Linked DNA regions of Homo sapiens: region 2 is linked to region 1. The links are contacts of gene promoters, found by promoter capture Hi-C in human tissues and cell types (Jung and others, 2019). All regions are on one chromosome and are shown on one strand. Each heading gives the region's core, a stretch centred on a gene start or on the middle of the fragment in contact. The rest is flanking DNA. Distances are from core to core; before and after follow the strand shown. Region 1 holds the start of PVRIG (PVR related immunoglobulin domain containing). Region 2 holds the start of TAF6 (TATA-box binding protein associated factor 6).

Region 1 (3,648 bases), core at 617-3,116:
ACCAAGGTCTGCTAAGTAACGGGTGCCTTCCCAGGCACTGGCATTACCACTAGACCAGGGAGCCCTCTAGTGGCCCTGTCCGGGCATGACAGAGGGTTCACACTCCTGCCTTCTGGTCACTTCTCAGCATGTCCCTTCAGCTCCTATCTCTGTATGGCCTGGTTTTTCCTAGGTTATAATTGTAGAACAAAGATTATTATAATATTGGAATAAAGAGTTATGCTATAAACTAATGATTAGTAATATATATAATCATAGCTATAATCTATTTCTAGTATAACTATTCTTATTCTATGTATTTTCTTTATTATACTGGAACAGCTTGTGCCCTCGGTCTCTTGCCTTGGCAGCTGGGTGGCTTGCCTCCCACATGGCACTGCTGGGCATTGTCTGTTAATATTGAATAATTGTTTTAAGATTATTTTCAATAAGGCTTTACCTTTTTTAACTTGCACTGTGGCCATGAGCTCTGCTGGAAGTGACTTGTTGGTGTTATCTCCTCAGTTATAAAGTGAAGGGATTTTTCTTTTTCAGATTACTGAGAGTCTTCCGTTACTAGGTAAGTCACCGCATCCTTATAACTCCAGGTGACACTGACTGGGGTTTATGGGATGAAAGAGGAGTGTGTGCTTGGATGATGGGGTGTGATAGTGAAGGGGTGAAAGGTTTCTTCTCACACATAGACATCGTGAGGTCTTCCTTGAGCTCTTTAGAGCCTTCCCTCGGGATAGGATGAAATACTGAGATCCTAGAAAGGATTCACAAAACGTGTCACTCATCAGCGCAGATTCACCGATTCACCCCTAGATGTGTGTGGGATTTGGATGGCAGAGAGAAACAGGCACTGAAGATTTTTGGTCAGGACAGGGCAGAGAAATAAGAAGAGTTGAAAATTCACCAAAGGATAGATAAACCCAGGGCGTTTAGAGAAAACCTGTAGTGTGCAAAGGAGCCCAGAATCCTGGGGCAACTTGGAGGGAAATATACTTAATTTGATTCACTAAGTTAGGCCCAGTGAAGGGATTGGGTGGCATAGGTAGAAGCCGAAAAATAAAGTATCTTGTATTGCTGGAGTAGCCTCTGTTTCTGAGGTCACATCCAAACTTAGCGAGGCAGCTTAACCTGGTGAGAGACATGGGTTCAACTCCTGGCTTCTGCACTGCTAGGGCAGAGGACTGCTGTTTGCTGACACAATCTTGGTGCGTTGGAAGTGAAAGGGAAGAGGCACTGGTGGCTGTGCTTTGGGCCCGAGCAGCCAGAAGCCAGTTGCCATCACCTATGACGAGGAGACAGCGCCTGGGGCAGAGCCCAGTATGGGGTGCGTTCAGGGTAGATCAGGAGGTATGAGTGGGTAGTGGGCGAGCCAGGCTGGGGGTTGTGGGGGAGGCCTGCATTGCAGGTGTAAGCGTGGGACCCACATCAGATTGGTAGTGGGTCATGCATGCTGGGCTGGCTCTCAGGTCCTCCCTGCTGGCTTCCCACTCCCAGGGGCTTTCTCCTCCGATTCCTTAGCTGGGTGAGGGGCGGGACAGAGCCCTTTCTTAGGGAAGCCCGGCACCCCTTGCTGTCCAGGGAAGGGGAGTCCTTCTAGCCCCTGACAGCTTCTCTGCCCCTCCCCTGGCCTCCCCAGGCCTAGCCAGGGCTGGGTTCTCACCCACCTGTGCCGCCCTGCCTTGTTACCTGGAAGCACAGCCTTGGGGACTGAGCAGGCCCTCACTGTCACTTTAAGAAGGGAATCAGCCACTTTGTGCTCACCACCTCTGGGGAAGGTGTGAGAGGAGAGAAGGAAGTGGCTGTTTGGCTGCTGACAACATGAAGACTTCCTGCGATGAGAACAGAGGCACAGGTGCCGGCCCTGCAGCCCCCAGAACCTGGACTGGAGGGGGCCATGGGGCACCGGACCCTGGTCCTGCCCTGGGTGCTGCTGACCTTGTGTGTCACTGCGGGTGAGTGCCGGCACCAGAGAGGGGCAGGGGCTGCAGGGAGGGTGATGTAGGACAACAGCCCACCGACCTTGCTGCTGTTCCACAGGGACCCCGGAGGTGTGGGTTCAAGTTCGGATGGAGGCCACCGAGCTCTCGTCCTTCACCATCCGTTGTGGGTTCCTGGGGTCTGGCTCCATCTCCCTGGTGACTGTGAGCTGGGGGGGCCCCAACGGTGCTGGGGGGACCACGCTGGCTGTGTTGCACCCAGAACGTGGCATCCGGCAATGGGCCCCTGCTCGCCAGGCCCGCTGGGAAACCCAGAGCAGCATCTCTCTCATCCTGGAAGGCTCTGGGGCCAGCAGCCCCTGCGCCAACACCACCTTCTGCTGCAAGTTTGCGTCCTTCCCTGAGGGCTCCTGGGAGGCCTGTGGGAGCCTCCCGCCCAGCTCAGACCCAGGTGGGGCCGGGGCGAGGGGTCCAGGAGGGCAGGGAGGGGCTCGGGAACTGGCCACCCATCTGATTCTTGTCTCCGTGCCCAGGGCTCTCTGCCCCGCCGACTCCTGCCCCCATTCTGCGGGCAGACCTGGCCGGGATCTTGGGGGTCTCAGGAGTCCTCCTCTTTGGCTGTGTCTACCTCCTTCATCTGCTGCGCCGACATAAGCACCGGTGAGACCTGGTCCCTGTCCACGTCCCCCTGACACTGGGATGGCCACATGCCCTGCAGAGCTCTGACCATCCTTGCTCTCTCCCAGCCCTGCCCCTAGGCTCCAGCCGTCCCGCACCAGCCCCCAGGCACCGAGAGCACGAGCATGGGTGAGGAGGGGACCTGCTTTGGGGATGAGGTGACAGGGGCAGGGGCAGGGGGGCCAGGGCTGGGCCCAAGCTGTGCAGACTCACTTGACCCTCCTTCCCCCGCGCAGGCACCAAGCCAGGCCTCCCAGGCTGCTCTTCACGTCCCTTATGCCACTATCAACACCAGCTGCCGCCCAGCTACTTTGGACACAGCTCACCCCCATGGGGGGCCGTCCTGGTGGGCGTCACTCCCCACCCACGCTGCACACCGGCCCCAGGGCCCTGCCGCCTGGGCCTCCACACCCATCCCTGCACGTGGCAGCTTTGTCTCTGTTGAGAATGGACTCTACGCTCAGGCAGGGGAGAGGCCTCCTCACACTGGTCCCGGCCTCACTCTTTTCCCTGACCCTCGGGGGCCCAGGGCCATGGAAGGACCCTTAGGAGTTCGATGAGAGAGACCATGAGGCCACTGGGCTTTCCCCCTCCCAGGCCTCCTGGGTGTCACCCCCTTACTTTAATTCTTGGGCCTCCAATAAGTGTCCCATAGGTGTCTGGCCAGGCCCACCTGCTGCGGATGTGGTCTCTGTGTGTGCGTGTGTGGGCACAGGTGTGAGTGTGTGAGTGACAGTTACCCCATTTCAGTCATTTCCTGCTGCAACTAAGTCAGCAACACAGTTTCTCTGATGTCGGCCTCGGCTGTGCTTCTTCTTTGGGGGTGAAGAGAGTGGGGAGGCAGTCTCCACCCCTGGGAGGCAGAAGCCAGGTGAGAACCAGAGTGGGTTGGGGCCTCATTGCAGGGCTGGGGTTGGCCCAGGGAGAGGGCAGTGTCCCAATCTTAGAGATCTGTCCTGGCTTCTCAGAGTGGCAGGGGTGTTGGGGGAGCTTCCTGAGGGACACCTGTGGCTGCCTAGATAGGGCTGGGGGATCCCAG
Region 2 (3,400 bases), core at 251-2,750, 100 kb before region 1:
AGGTGAAACCTCGTCTCTACTAAAAAATAGAAAAAATTAGCCAGGCATGGTGGCAGGCACCTATAGTCCCTGCTACTCGGGAGGCTGCTGAGGCAGGAGAATGGCGTGAGCCCGGGAGGCGGAGCTTGCAGTGAGCCGAGATCGCACCACTGCACTCCAGCCTGGGCAACAGAGCCAGACTCTGTCTCAAAAAAAAAAAAAAAACAAAAAAAGCAAAGTGGAGCCAGGTGCAGTGGCTCACGCCTGTAATTTGGGAGGCCAAGGCGGGAAGATCACCTGAGGTTAGGAGTTCGAGACCACCCTGGCCAACATGGTGAAACCCTGTCTTTTTGTAAAAACACAAAAATTAACCAGACATGGTGGCGGGCGCCTGTAGTCCCAGCTATCTGGGAGGCTGAGGTGGGAGAACCGCTTGAACCAGGAAGCGGAGGTTGCAGTGAACCGAGATCGTGCCACTGCACTCCAGCCTGGGCGATAGAGAGAGACTCCATCTCAAAAAAAAAAAAAAAGCAAATTGGAGCCAAGAGAGGTAACTCACCCCAGTAATCCCAGCACTTTGGAAGGCAGAGGTGGGGGGATTGTTTGAGGCCAGGAGTTTGAGACAGCCTGGTCAACATAGTGAGACCCCCATTTCTGCAAAAATTAAAAAATTAGACGGACCTGGTGGTGTGAACCTGTCATCCCAGCTACTTAGGAGGCTGAGGCAGGAGGATCGCTTGAACTGAGGAGTTGGAGGCTGCAGTGAGCCAAGATGGTGCCACTGCACAACAGCCTGGGTAACAGACGGAAACCCTGTCTCAAAAAAAAAACAAAAAAAAATTAAAGTGGCACACTTGCAGTTGGACATTAGGAAGATTAACATATCAATACTGCTTAGGAGTAGTACAGGTAGGGTGGGGCCGTGCTGGAAGGATGGGAAGAGGGAGGCCGAAAAACAAATTGGTTCTTTTCAAACCATCCCTGATCTCCTCCCCGACTTTTATAAGTCTTATCTATAGGGAACACAACTATTCGAGACATACTCTGTGCCTGGCGCCGGGTTTACAAGAGGGGGTCGTGTCCCACTTCCCTGGCGAACTCCTACGAATCCTTCAATACCCGGCGGTACCCTCTGCCAGTAAAGGCTCATAAAACACGCTACAGTCACAGGATCTCCTCAGATCAGTGGAGGCGGCAGGAAGGCGTCCCAGGGAAGGGTTAACTTAAGCGAGATCCCAGCAGAGAAGCAGGTCGAAGATCCCCGGGCAGCGCGAAAGGAGGTTCAGAGAGCCCACCCCATCTCCTGCAACATCTCTCCAATGCAGGCACACACACGGGGTCCCCACGAGCACAGACACACAACCAACCGTCCTCTTTCCAGTCCCCACAAGGGACCTTCAAAGGGTCTCCTCCGGGGTACCACTCAGACCCGCCCCCGCCACCCGAGCGCGGGGAGCAGGAAAACTCTAGCGGCAGCCGAGACGCTGCTCACCCGGCGCTCGGCGCCATCTTGGCCCCGCCCCCTCGTGGGAGCAGGTCCTGGCAGAGCCTAAGAGCAAGTCACTGCCCCTTCCCCGTACCAGAATAAGTCCTCTAGGCTCGCAGAATGAAATTATATTTTAAAAGTTTGTTTCTACATCTATATATAAGGAGCACTCCCTCTTGGTGTAATTACTGCAATTTATTCCTTCACTACCCGGCTGCCAGGACCTTCAAGAGGCGCCACAAAACGGAGGCAGGGAAACCCGTAGCAACGAGGCCCCACCCTTGTTGGGCTGATCCTGCGCATGCGCCGACCTTCCTCGGCTGGATTTAAGGTTGCCGCTAGCCGCCTGGGAATTTAAGGGACCCACACTACCTTCCCGAAGTTGAAGGCAAGCGGTGATTGTTTGTAGACGGCGCTTTGTCATGGGACCTGTGCGGTTGGGAATATTGCTTTTCCTTTTTTTGGCCGTGCACGAGGCTTGGGCTGGGATGTTGAAGGAGGAGGACGATGACACAGAACGCTTGCCCAGCAAATGCGAAGGTATTTGAAGGGGGTAGCCCCTATAGGCATCGCCCGGCCACACCTCCTTCTTCTAGGCCGGACATCCTAGCCTGTATTGGGTGGGTCACCCGACCTCCTTGAAGGCTTGAGGGAGGTTCTGGTGGAGCTTGGCTGAATTTGGATGGGGTCAAGGAAGCGAACGTGTAGTGCCACCTCAAACTGCATCCAGAGAGAGCCTGCATTTTTTTGGCTGGCTTGGAACCCCCCGCCCGCCAATGGATTGTGGGAATTGTAGTTCAGGGACCATCGGCCCGGGACTGCCAACTTTTAGAGCATCTTCAGTGAGTGTTTACCTCATGTCACCAGACCTTAATCTGCAGAGGCTGCAGGAGCCGGGTGTGAGGCTCAGGCCTTGTGGACATCCGCTGCCCTACCCTAGCATAGACGCTCCCAAATTACAGGCCCCACACCCCGCTGAGGGGGTTTGAGGGTGAGTAATTCAGCCTTTGAAGCTCATAAACAAAAGGAAGCCACACAACTAGGAGAGTGTCCCCATCCGGTGAGACTTTGCAGACGGTGCGTACTATATGGATTTTTCAGCAAGCAGCGCCTTCCATAGCTGCACTAGCGTGGGGCCCAGTTGAGAAAGGGGGCTGGCCCTGATGCCCTAGTTTGCTGCCCTCCTGACTTTACGTTTCTTCCCTGGATTCCTTTTCTCTTCGCTTCACCCCCTCAACTGTATTCCAGTATCATGAAAGGCAGTCATGACAGTCTCATGACTTGGTCCTCATCTCTGTCTCCTTTCACCTCCGTGTGCCGCTCTTCTCCCCTGACCTGTCAATCTTTTTAAACAGACTTAATCACCTAATTGTATCAGTCCTTGCTTTAACACCTCTGCAGGCCTTCTATCAGAATACAGCCAACGGGCCTGGGCACAGTGGCTCACATCTGTAATCCCAGCACTTTGGAAGGCCAAGGTGGGAGGATCACTTGAGCCCATGAGTTCAGGCCCAGCTTCACCACAGCTTGTCATCCTTGGTTTATCTGTCCCAACTACACTGACAGAGACCTGTAGATAGAGATAATAGGTCTTATTGCTGTCTATATTGTTAGTATGCATACAGAAGGAGCTCAATAAATAACTGCAGGATAACAGTGAATACTTATACAGTGCTCACTATGTGCCAGCCTTTATATATGTTGATTTATTTAATCTTCATCACACTCCTATGAGGGACATACTATTATTATCCAATTGTATTAATTTTATATATATATATATATATATATATATTTTTTTTTTTTTTTTTTTTTTTTTTTTTTTTTTCTCTTTTCAGACAGCGTCTCATGCCGTTGCCCAGGCTGGAGTGCAGTGGTGCAATCTCGCTCACTGCAACCTCCGCCTCCCGGGTTCAAGCGATTCTCCTGCCTCAG

Evidence for each region. The method cuts DNA at HindIII sites, captures the fragments that hold promoters and counts their contacts. A contact is called where the count stands out against the background at its distance.
Region 2: a contact is called between the fragment with the promoter of TAF6 here and the fragment with the promoter of PVRIG in region 1, in 5 of the 25 tissues and cell types used here (IMR-90 fibroblasts, liver, mesenchymal stem cells and 2 more).

Annotation. Positions count from the first base shown.
Region 1 is chr7:100,218,083-100,221,730 of GRCh38, forward strand. PVRIG (PVR related immunoglobulin domain containing) reads left to right here and starts at 1,867. Exons shown (of 5, transcript NM_001397246.1): 1 at 1,867-1,946; 2 at 2,032-2,382; 3 at 2,465-2,591; 4 at 2,678-2,738; 5 at 2,846-3,408. The coding sequence starts at 1,889. The coding sequence ends at 3,169. It also overlaps a transcript of STAG3 not described here and the pseudogene CASTOR3P. RefSeq lists enhancers at 1,757-1,886, 1,947-2,016, 3,407-3,506, 3,527-3,626 and a silencer at 2,937-2,986. The HindIII fragment of the contact is 32,066 bases long and covers 1-3,648 here.
Region 2 is chr7:100,117,858-100,121,257 of GRCh38, forward strand. It overlaps TAF6 (TATA-box binding protein associated factor 6), which reads right to left and starts at 1,501. Exons shown (of 15, transcript NM_139315.3): 1 at 1,347-1,501. CNPY4 (canopy FGF signaling regulator 4) reads left to right here and starts at 1,777. Exons shown (of 6, transcript NM_152755.2): 1 at 1,777-2,005. The coding sequence starts at 1,888. RefSeq lists enhancers at 1,454-1,603, 1,814-2,033, 2,404-2,473. The HindIII fragment of the contact is 13,440 bases long and covers 1-3,400 here.